Linked DNA regions of Homo sapiens: region 1 is linked to region 2. Evidence: promoter capture Hi-C in 16 types of primary human blood cells and fetal thymus (Javierre and others, 2016). All regions are on one chromosome and are shown on one strand. The core of a region is centred on a gene start or on the middle of the fragment in contact, and the rest is flanking DNA. Distances in the headings are between cores, read along the strand shown. Region 1 has its middle 4.6 kb from the start of HOXC6. Region 2 holds the start of GPR84 (G protein-coupled receptor 84).

The links. Contacts are between HindIII fragments. The CHiCAGO score rates a contact against its expected background, and 5 or more counts as called.
Region 1: a fragment that was not itself captured here is called in contact with the fragment with the promoter of GPR84 in region 2 in 1 of 17 cell types (neutrophils); the score reaches 5.7 in neutrophils.

The regions. Positions count from the first base shown.
Region 1 is chr12:54,021,327-54,026,304 of GRCh38, forward strand. It overlaps a transcript of HOXC4 not described here, a transcript of HOXC5 not described here and a transcript of HOXC6 not described here. Among named protein-coding and RNA genes, the nearest start is that of HOXC6, 4.6 kb to the right of the region's middle. RefSeq lists enhancers at 1-335, 403-612. The HindIII fragment of the contact is 3,865 bases long and covers 1-3,664 here.
Region 2 is chr12:54,362,760-54,367,597 of GRCh38, forward strand. It overlaps GPR84 (G protein-coupled receptor 84), which reads right to left and starts at 1,727. Exons shown (of 2, transcript NM_020370.3): 1 at 1,634-1,727; 2 at 1-1,100. The coding sequence starts at 1,092. All of the region lies in intron 1 of GPR84-AS1 (GPR84, ZNF385A, ITGA5 and GTSF1 antisense RNA 1), which reads left to right. RefSeq lists an enhancer at 1,656-1,745. The HindIII fragment of the contact is 7,569 bases long and covers 713-4,838 here.

The DNA of each region.
Region 1 (4,978 bases), core at 482-2,981, 340 kb before region 2:
AGCCAGGACAAGACCTGGTCAGGGAGACGGCTGGTCCGGGCAGCACGGGAGAGGACGCTGGACCCGCTGCCTGTGGCCTGGAGCACTGAGTATGGGCTACCAAGGCTGAGAATTGATGGGCCTCCTTTCCCAGCCTTTTTCCCTTCCAGAGACACAAAAAGACAGAGCAGAGGGGAAATATCAATGTCAGTGGAAAACCCCATAAAAGAAAGCAGGGACCAGAGCGGGGCTGGAGGGGTTTTCCGCTACTCTCTCTAGGTGATCGGGTTCCTCCCAAGACTCTTGTCCAGACAGGCTGCACCAAGAGGTGTGCAGCTTTCTTCCACCTTCCTCCCGCCCTTCAAGGAGGGCAGCCTTAGGCTTTCTGGGCCTTGGTCACCCCAGGCACTGGGGTGACATTACTCCAGGATTGTGCCCCTCGCCCAGCCCACGGCCTCTGCCACGGCGCCGCAGCCGCTCCTGTTTATTGTGTCTGTGAGTTGTTTACTTGTTTTGTCTGCTGCCACCCTGCGTCAGAAACCCGCCAAACCAGCGAACTCGCCCAGGAGAACAAAGTGCTGTGCTATCCCCGGACTCCCTCCCCTTTCCAGCAACCCCCTCCTGCCCTCACAAGCTCCTGCATTCTCCCTTTCGGAGGGGAGGAAGCAGAAATAGTCTTAAAACAGGGCAGCTGTTTATAGGGTCAGGGGAATTATGGGGACACCATAAACCTCTGGGTGTCCCTGTGGTGGACAGACTTCTGAGCAGCCCTTCCCTTGCCTAGGCTTTTCTTCCTTCCCCTGGTGACCACTTGGTTAAGGGGGCCACACTCATTGAGAAAGTTGAGCCCACCCCCATCAACCCAGTCCCCCACTACCCCACTCCTTTCTGCAGGAGTTTCCCTGAGACACAGGTTGTTGGGTTTTAAATCAGGGTAATGTTGGTGGATTCATAAAGCTAGATATAGCATGTCATTCTTCTCCCACACTCCCTCTCCTCAGCCCCCCAAAATTGCAGTGAATTTAAGCAAATCCTACAAAATTAAATTGCCCCTTTGCTAAAGATCCTATATGTCTCCAATCCTGCCAGGTGTAGAGTCAGATAGTTGGCTTTTGGCCTTTAATTTTGCTGCTAGCTATTAAATTTAAAAGAGTATCATTGAAGTAAGTAATATTCTCATTTCTGAAATTAATTTTCCCCTCCCAGTCTCTCTCTCTCTCTTTTTGCCAGCACAGATTAAATGGTTCTTTCAGATCTGCAAACAATAAAGGATAAAATTATTTATAGGGAAATGAGGATGCTGTTTTATTGTTGGCATATTGTTCCAGAACATAACAACATTTTATTTTCAAGCAGGAGAGGTTAGACCAGGGGGAGAAAGAGGGGGAAAGGAAAAAACATGAAAGGAGGGCAGGAACCCACACACAAAACTCCTGCCATGTATAACTGGTAGGACATTTACAATTTCTATATGACAACTCACTGTGATGTCATAATACCGAGTTCTTGAATTTTATAATTCTCATGAACCTCTCAAATGGGTCCAAGCAGTGCTTCATGTGGAGGGGTATAGAAGAAGCCAGGAGGCTGGGGATCCTTTGACCCAGTGCAGAGCAGCACACCCCCTATTGCGGCTTCTTCCTCATGTGACATCCTCTTGAGGCCCTATTCTGGGGGCTGAAAATATTCTGGATATTCTGCATTTTAATTTTTCTCCTGGGCCAAGCAGGGCCACTTGCTTTGCCCCCCTCAAGTGTCCCTAGGCATCTAAGCTCTCTCCCCATTCCCAGATCACAGAGAGCTGTGTCCCCAGGCTCTCCCCAAGCCCCCTCCTCAGCTAATACTCAGCTGCTTGGAATAGAGGTGGGAGGCTTGGGCACCAGCCCCCAAAAAGCCAGAAATGATTTTTTCCAGATGGAGCTGGAAGGGGGCTCAGGGCTGAGCGTGATGGGGTAGAGATGTTTGGGACCTATTTTACGTTTTAACCTTAAGTCAGAGAAGTGAATTGAGAAGCCAAACAAATGCCAATGTGAGAGTTTGTATCTGCTGATGGTAGCAGCAATAAGTGAAGTGCTGGTAAGGAAAGGTCAGGCAGAAATCTGGAAAGAGAGAGGGAGGAGAGGAAATGTGACATGAGTTAGCAGAGCCCTTCCATATACCTTTCTTCTCCGTTTAATTGTAATAAAGCAAAAGCAGCTCGGGTAGCCTCTCAACCTCTTAGCTCAAAAGAGGAATCACCAGCGCAGGCCTTGGAGGTGTTTGGGGGCAGTTCTCAGCAGCTTAACATGCCCAATCTGCCCTCTTCCTCCTTTCCCCCTCCCTGCTGATCCCCAGCTCCCTTCAACTGGTCAGCCCGGGCCCTGTCCCCAAAATATTAGCACCCCCAAATGATATCCATTTCTGTGTTAGGTGTGTCAAATTTCACTTCTCTCCATGCCTAAACTTTGAAAGGAGGAGTGTACCTTTTTGGAATGCGGTGTGTGTAGCGGGGGCAGGTATGTGCTCAGACAGCTTCCCCCATCATATCTATGGGAAACTGGAAGCCCCTTAGGTGAGCCATGCTTTGGTGTTCCCAAACAGCATTCCCTGCATTCAGGTTCTCTGGCAGACCAGGAGGCTCTTTGCGATCTGATCCTTTGACTAGGAGTTCCATGGAGATCAAAGGAGCTTATTTATACACAAAACACCAGGCATTTGGAGTAGAATTTATTTTTTAATTTCTAAATAAAAAAGTCTAATCATAGACCAATCGGGCCAACTGAGCAGTCGCTCCAGAACAGCAAAGCCTTAACCAAATAGTGTGATTATGAGGGGAGCTGAGCAATTACTGAAACTCGGCTTTCTCCGTAAGAGGGATTTTAGCCCTCGCCCAGTGGCACAAAAGGGGCCAGCGGGGCAACCGTTCTTCTCTTGCTCAGAAAAGTGAGACTTGGGGGTGGTGGGGGCAGGGTCGGGCAGCTGCGGTCGCGTCCAGGCAGCTGAGCACCCAGGCCAGGCGCTGAGGCTGAGCACTGAGTCCTGAGGCTCCAGTGCTTGGGTCCCCGAGCAGCCTCAGGAGGCACCGAGCTGTAGTTGCAGCGCGGCAGTCAGGAATGGAGTATGTGTATCTGTGTGCGAGGGTTGGTGAGTTACAAACATCCGCGCAGAGTTAGGGGATCTGGGGAGAGAGAGGAGACAGGGAGAACACAACTAAGGAGGACCTCTGGAAAATATTGTCCCCAAATAAAAATTCCAGATCTCATCCCTCTCACTTCAAATATCCCTCCCCAGGAAATTAATATATTTCCCAGAGCTGAGTGGAAAGCAAAGGCCAGCAAGGTGAGGCCTGCCCACGAACTTCTTCAGGCTGGGTCCAGTCCCACCCACCCTTTCCCCAGTTCAGAGCTCACATGCCCCCAGCCTTTCCCTGGCCTAAAGGGGAGTAAGGCTGGAGTGGTAGCATTTAACTTGCCTAGGGAAATCCCCAAGTGCCCAGGCTGCAATGCCACCCTTATCCTTGGGGACTCCAGGCCAGTGACTGCACCCCACTCAGGTCCAAGGCGCAGGCAGTAAATTTCTCTCCTATAATTAGCGCTATCAAAAGCATGTGTTTTGCATTGGAGAGGACTGGAGAAGCAAGTGGCAATTTTTCCCTTGTATTCTTTTTCTGTGTTTTTTGAATTCTGTTTTTGAATCCACTAATTAAAGCTTCTCTGAAAGTGAAAATCTGCTCTTGACACCAAGCCCCTTCCGAATGCCTGATTTGGGAGGCTAAGGGGCCAGAGCAGTAGCAAGGAGACCTGCAAGCCTGATGGGGTTGGGGGGTAGTGTTCTCTGATTTCTTTAGGCTCGTTTTATAGAAACAAAGAACAAGTTCTCTCCCCTCCTTCCCAAGACTTGTGCATATTTACAGAGCACAACTGCAGTTTTAATAAAACATCTGTTCTTGCTTCTGCTGATGAGTTTCCATAATTGTTTTCAGACAAATTTAACAGGAAAATATAAATATATTTAGAAAAATCTAAGTCCCAGCTTTCCCCCTATAGACAGCCATTCTTTTGCCAAAAAAATAAAATTAACATGAAATGGGAAAAAGAAAATATAATCCAATGTAGGGAAGATCGGGCTCATCTGACCTGCTCTCCCCCCTTGGAGCGAATCCTTTCAGCAAATTTCAGCTGCATAATTAAAGATCTAAGAGAAAGAAGAGGGCTTCTTCTTTCCTCAGGAATGAAAGGTAATTGGGGGGGGGGGAGGTGTTGAAAATTAATTTTGCCAAAGGTCTTTAAGCAGTGGAGGAATTTATTTGTATTTCTGTTTCCCCTTCTCTCCCCCTTCCAGCATTTCTGCCTTTTTCACCCAGCAGCTGGTTTCTGTTCATTATAAATCGGCGAGACCTTTCAGTCTCTGCCCTCTGTTTAGGGACGTCATAAAACACTTAACTTTCTGGGGCTGAGGCTCACATTCTGCCTCTCAGGTCGCCAACCTCCCTGAGCCCACCGACTTTAGGCCCCAATAGAGAATCTCCCCAACTTTGGGGCCCCTTTCCTCTCCAGACATGGTTGAGGAGGGGCTCAAGGAAACCTAGGCATCCTTGCTGGGGGCTGTAGTCCATGCTGCCCCAGAAGCCCCTTCTTTCTTCCAAGGTCCTTCCCTCCCCCACCCAGACATAAAAGAGATTTTTAAATACATAGAAAATCAACACTCATTGAAAGTGAAACCTCATTAAGACATCCTATCTTCCATCATTCAATTTGTTGTACATTGCAACAATTTAATATCTTGAAGGAAATATCACTGACATGATTTATCCCTCTAGCAATCTCTCTCTGAAATTGGAGGGGGGGACAGAGTTACTCTCTCTTCCGGCCTCTTCTACTTGTTACACCACTACCCTTAGGGCAGAAAGGAGGCTGGGAACTCTGAGAGAGGCTACTTGTGTCCAGGGGTGCACTGACTTGTTCCCTAGCTCAGTCCCCAGAGTACTCCTGCCTTGTTGTCTCTCCCCCACCTCTTGCCC
Region 2 (4,838 bases), core at 477-2,976:
GCAACCATTGAGCCAGGTGAGGTTGGCAGCAAGCATGTGGACCACCCGGGGAGCCTGGACTCTGGCATCCAGAATGTTGAGCAGCAAGAAGGGGATGTAGCTCAGGGCAAAGCAGAGGAACACAGCAAAACACATTCGAGTCACCTTCCCAAATTCCGATGAAGAATCCGGAGCTCTTCTGGCTCCTTTAATTGGCTGGGCTTTGGCAGATGCTTCTGGAGGGCTTTTCTCTGCCATCTGCTTAGCTCTCTTGCTGTTGATCTGGTCTCCCACTTCTGATGAGTCCCCTTCCAGGGTCTGGGTGGTGGCAGCACTGACTGGCTCAGATGAAATCCCCTCACTGGGTCCTCCTGATGCTAACCTGCTGTCCAGCTCCTGGAAACGACCAGGCATGGCCTCATCAGTCCTGGCCACATGGTTGGAGTGGATGCTTGCCTGTCGCAACTTGTATTGGTCCAGTGCCTGTGCTGCTCGTTTGACCTGGCGGTGGATGAGGCAATAGAAGATGCCAACACTGCTGAGCCCAAGCACAAAGTAGATGCCCATGAGGATGGTGGTGTAAGGCCGGCCTCGGATGCGGTCAAAGCTGCAGGTGCAGACTACAGGTACCAGGATATAAATAGGCCAGAGGGGAGCAAAGCTGGCCACGCCCACAACCCAGGTGCTCACCAGTGCCAGCACTATCCCCTTGGCACTGAAAACTTGGGGAAAAAGCTTAGGGTGGGCAATGAGGAGGTAGCGTCCCAGTGCGATGAGGCAGAGGGTCAGGATGGAGACAGAATTGGAGGCAAAAAGGAGGAGCCCAAATACCCTGCAGAAGGTGGCACCGGTGCGCCAGTGCAGGTGGAGGTAGGTGTCCACAGAGAAGGGCTGAAGGAGCGTGCAGTAGAGGAGATCAGCCAGTGTGAGGTTGGCTATGAGCAGGTTGAATCGGGTACGGAGCTTGGGCTGGATGGCCAAGGCCAGTAGGGTGAGCACATTGCCCACGGTGCCTGTCACAGCCACCACCACCCCCCAGCTAACTGCAACATAACGATAGCCCAGCACAGACTCATGGTAGCAGGAGAAGTTGGCGTCAGAGCTGTTCCACATGATAGAGGCTAAAGAGGCAGAGGGTGGAAGAGGAAGAGGGAATCAGAACCTAGCATTCAACTTAGATCTCTTGAACAGTTCTGGGACCCTGGACATCTAAACTGTTCCTGGACCTCACCTTAATTCAGTATCCTCCTGAACCATTCCCAGGCCTCTTCATCTCAAGATCCCTAACTCTCTCCTTAGGTTCTCTTAGTCCTTTCCCATTCTCAAATATTTCCCCAAGTTTTTATCTAAATATCTCTTGCCTAAATATCTTAGTCTTATTCTGCTCCAAACCTCAGTCCTCTTCTATATCCATCCCGCTGCTCTCAGTAAACCCAGTGCCCTCCAACTTTTTTAATTCCTTCCCCATCCCCAAAGACCCCCAGGAGTCCCCTCTCTCTATTCAGCATCGTGTATTCAGGATCCTCTCTGTATTCAGTTCCCTCTGCTCCTTTCCACTACACACACATATAGGCTTTAGTCATTTCTGTTTGTTACCACCTGGGAGATGAGGAGACCAAGAAGGTAAAAGTATACCCACAACAAAAGTGCTTACCTGAGTTTCTCAGCCTTCAATTCTTTCTATAATGGAAGAAGTTCAACTCACCCAAAGAGCAGTCCTTTCTGGTGGACAGTTAGGCTTCAAGCAGGAGACATCCTGCTCTTATGTATCCTATTATAGTCCACTGAAAGAATAAGAAACTCCCCCATTACCCAATCCCAGCCACTTCCTTCACCACCTCCGGTCCTACTCATTTTGCTTCGGCTAGTGAAATCTAGGCTTCTCTGTTGAAAGTCCCCCGCTACTTACCTCAGAGTGGTTTCACTCTTCCTTTCTCCTTCCTGAAACCCAAACTCTGTTTTCTTCCCCTCTTTGCATGGCAGAACTCATCTGTAAGATCATTGCCAAGAATTGCTAGGGCACGGAGTCAGAGCATCAGAACATTTGGGCCACTCCTCAAAGGGCCAAAAGATAAGACCAAGTTCCAGGAGCAACTTTAGGTACCCCCAGAAGCCTTGGGTTTGTTTCAGAGGAGCACTACCTTTCTTGTCTCCACGGCTTAGACATGGTTCAAGTCAGAGGGACCCATGTGACACCCTAGCACATTTGAGAAACCAAGTCAGATGAAGAAAAGTGGGGAATGAGGCATCCAGAATTCTGGTTTCATTCTCCTCAAGGGATCAGGGTCCTGTTCAATCATTCATTTATCCATTTACCCAACAACTTAGTACTGAGTGCCTACTATACACCAGACTCTGATCTAGACACTGGGGATACAAGAACGTCTGATATATGGCCTTGTGCATAGTCTACTAGGGGAGACAGATACATAAATATGCAAATGCTTAATCGATTCTCCAGAGCAAGGGTGAGTAAACTTCACCCTATGGGCCAAATCTAGTCTGCTGTTTTTGTATAGCCTGTGACCCAATCATGTTTTTTTTCCATTTAAAAATGGTTATATTTTAGGCCAGGTGCAGTGGCTCACGCCCATTATCCCAACATTTTGGGAGGCCAAGGAGGGCAGATCACTTGAGGTCAGGAGTTCGAGACCAGCCTGGCCAACATGGTAAAACCCCGTCTCTACTAAAAATACAAAAATTAGCCAGGCGTGATGGGTGCGCCTGTAATCCCAGCTACTAGGGAGGCTGAGGCAAGAGAATCGCTTGAACCCGGGAGGCGGAGGTTGCTTGCAGTTAGCCAAGATCACATTGCACCACTGCACTCCAGCCTGGATGACAGAGCAAGACTCCGTCTCAAAAAATAAAATAATAAATAAATAAGTAAGTAAAATAAAAATGGTTATATTTTAAATTGTTATATAAGTGCCTATGTAATATCCTCAGTTTTATCTCTTGATTAACACAGTTTAAAATATTTATAATCAGGCCCTTTGAGAAAAAGTTTGCTGAGGCTTGCTTTAAAATACTATATAGGCCTGGCTTGGAGGCTCATGCCTGTAATCCCAATGCTTTGGGAGGCTGAGCTGGGAGGATGACTTCAGGTCAGGAGTTTAAGACCAGCCTGGGCAACATAGTGAGACCCTGTCTTTACAATAAAAAAAAAAATAGCCAGCTGTGGTGATGTGCACCTGTAGTCCCAGCTACTGGGGAGGCTGAGGTGGGAGGATCATTTGAGTCTGGGAGGTCAAGACTACAGTGAGAAAGATTGTGCCACTATACTCCAGCCTGGGTGACACAGCAGGACGTTGTCTCTGAAAAATTAGAAAAACAAACTAACAGGCTGGGCGCAGTGGCTCATGCCTCTAATGCCAGCACTTTGGGAGGCCGAGGCAGGTGGATCATGAGGTCAGGTGTTCGAGACTAGCCTGGCCAACATAGTGAAACCCCGTCTCTACTAAAAATACAAAAAATTAGCTGGGCGTGGTGGCAGGCGCCTGTAATCCCAGGTACTTGGGAGGCTGAGGCAGGAGAATCGCTTGAACCTAGGAGGTAGAGGTTGCAATGAGTCGAGATGGTGCCACTGCACCTCAGCCCGGGCGACAGTGTGAGACTCCGTCTCAAAAACAAACAAACAAAAAACAAACAAAAAATACATCGCTGGGTGCAGTGGCTCACACCTGTAATCCCAGCACTTTGGCAGGCCAAGGCGGGCAGATCACTTGAGGTCAGGAGTTCAAGACCAGCCTGGCCAATATGATGAAACCCCGTCTCTACTAAAAATACAAAAAATTAGCTGGGTGTGGTGGCAGGCACCTGTAATGCCAGCTACTTGGGAGACTGAGGCAGGAGAATCTCTTGAACCTAGGAGGTGGAGGTTGCAGTGAGCCGAGATCGCGCCACTGCACTTCAGCCCAGGTGACAGTGCGAGACTCCGTCTCAAAAACAAACAAAAAACAAACAAAAAATACATGGCTGGGTGCAGTGGCTCACACCTGTAATCCCAGCACTTTGGGAGACCAAGGCGGGCAGATCACTTGAGGTCAAGAGTTCGAGACCAGCCTGGCCAATATGATGAAACCCCGTCTCTACTAAAAATACAAAAATTAGCCAGGCGTGGTGGTGCGCACCTGTAATCCTGGCTACTTGGGAGGCTGAGACAGGAGAATCGCTTGAACCCAGGAGGCGGAGGTTGCAGTGAGCCGAGGTTGCACCACTGCACCCCAGCCTGGGCAACAGAGCAAAAACTCTTTCTCAAAAAACAAAACAAAACAAAACAAAACAACCCAGAATGATATATCAGAGGCTTAGAGAAAAGGAGCATACTATTAAGTAGGAGGTGAGGAAAGGGTTCACAGAGAGGTTACTGAGCTGCATTCTGAATGATGAACAGGAGAGTTTTTTGGGAGATAAGTAGAGGGACATTCTAGACAAAGAGAACAGTATGTGTAGAGGCGCAGAGGTTCAGGTAGAAGCCAACAAAGGGCATGAGGTAGAGAACAACAGAGAAGAGCTTGGAGAGTTGAGCAGGCAGGGTCAAGGGGGACCTTGTGTATCGTGCTAAGGAGCTGGTTTCATGCTGAAGGAGTTGGTGAGATTTGCACTTAGATTGCTGTGAGTAAAGAATGAAGGCGTGCAGCCTGGGAGTGAGCGAAATGGGTAAAGAGGCACTAGTTCAGACGAGAGATAGAATGGCCCTAAGTTAGGGCCAGACCACCTGTACAACTGCATAGGGCCTTGCAGTTTGAAGGGCCTGGTGCTTGGTTAAATGCTCGTCAATCACTGTTTTTAAATTCTTAATACTATACTTTTTGAATAAGGGGCTCTGCTTTTTCATTTTGCACTGGGTCCCACAAATT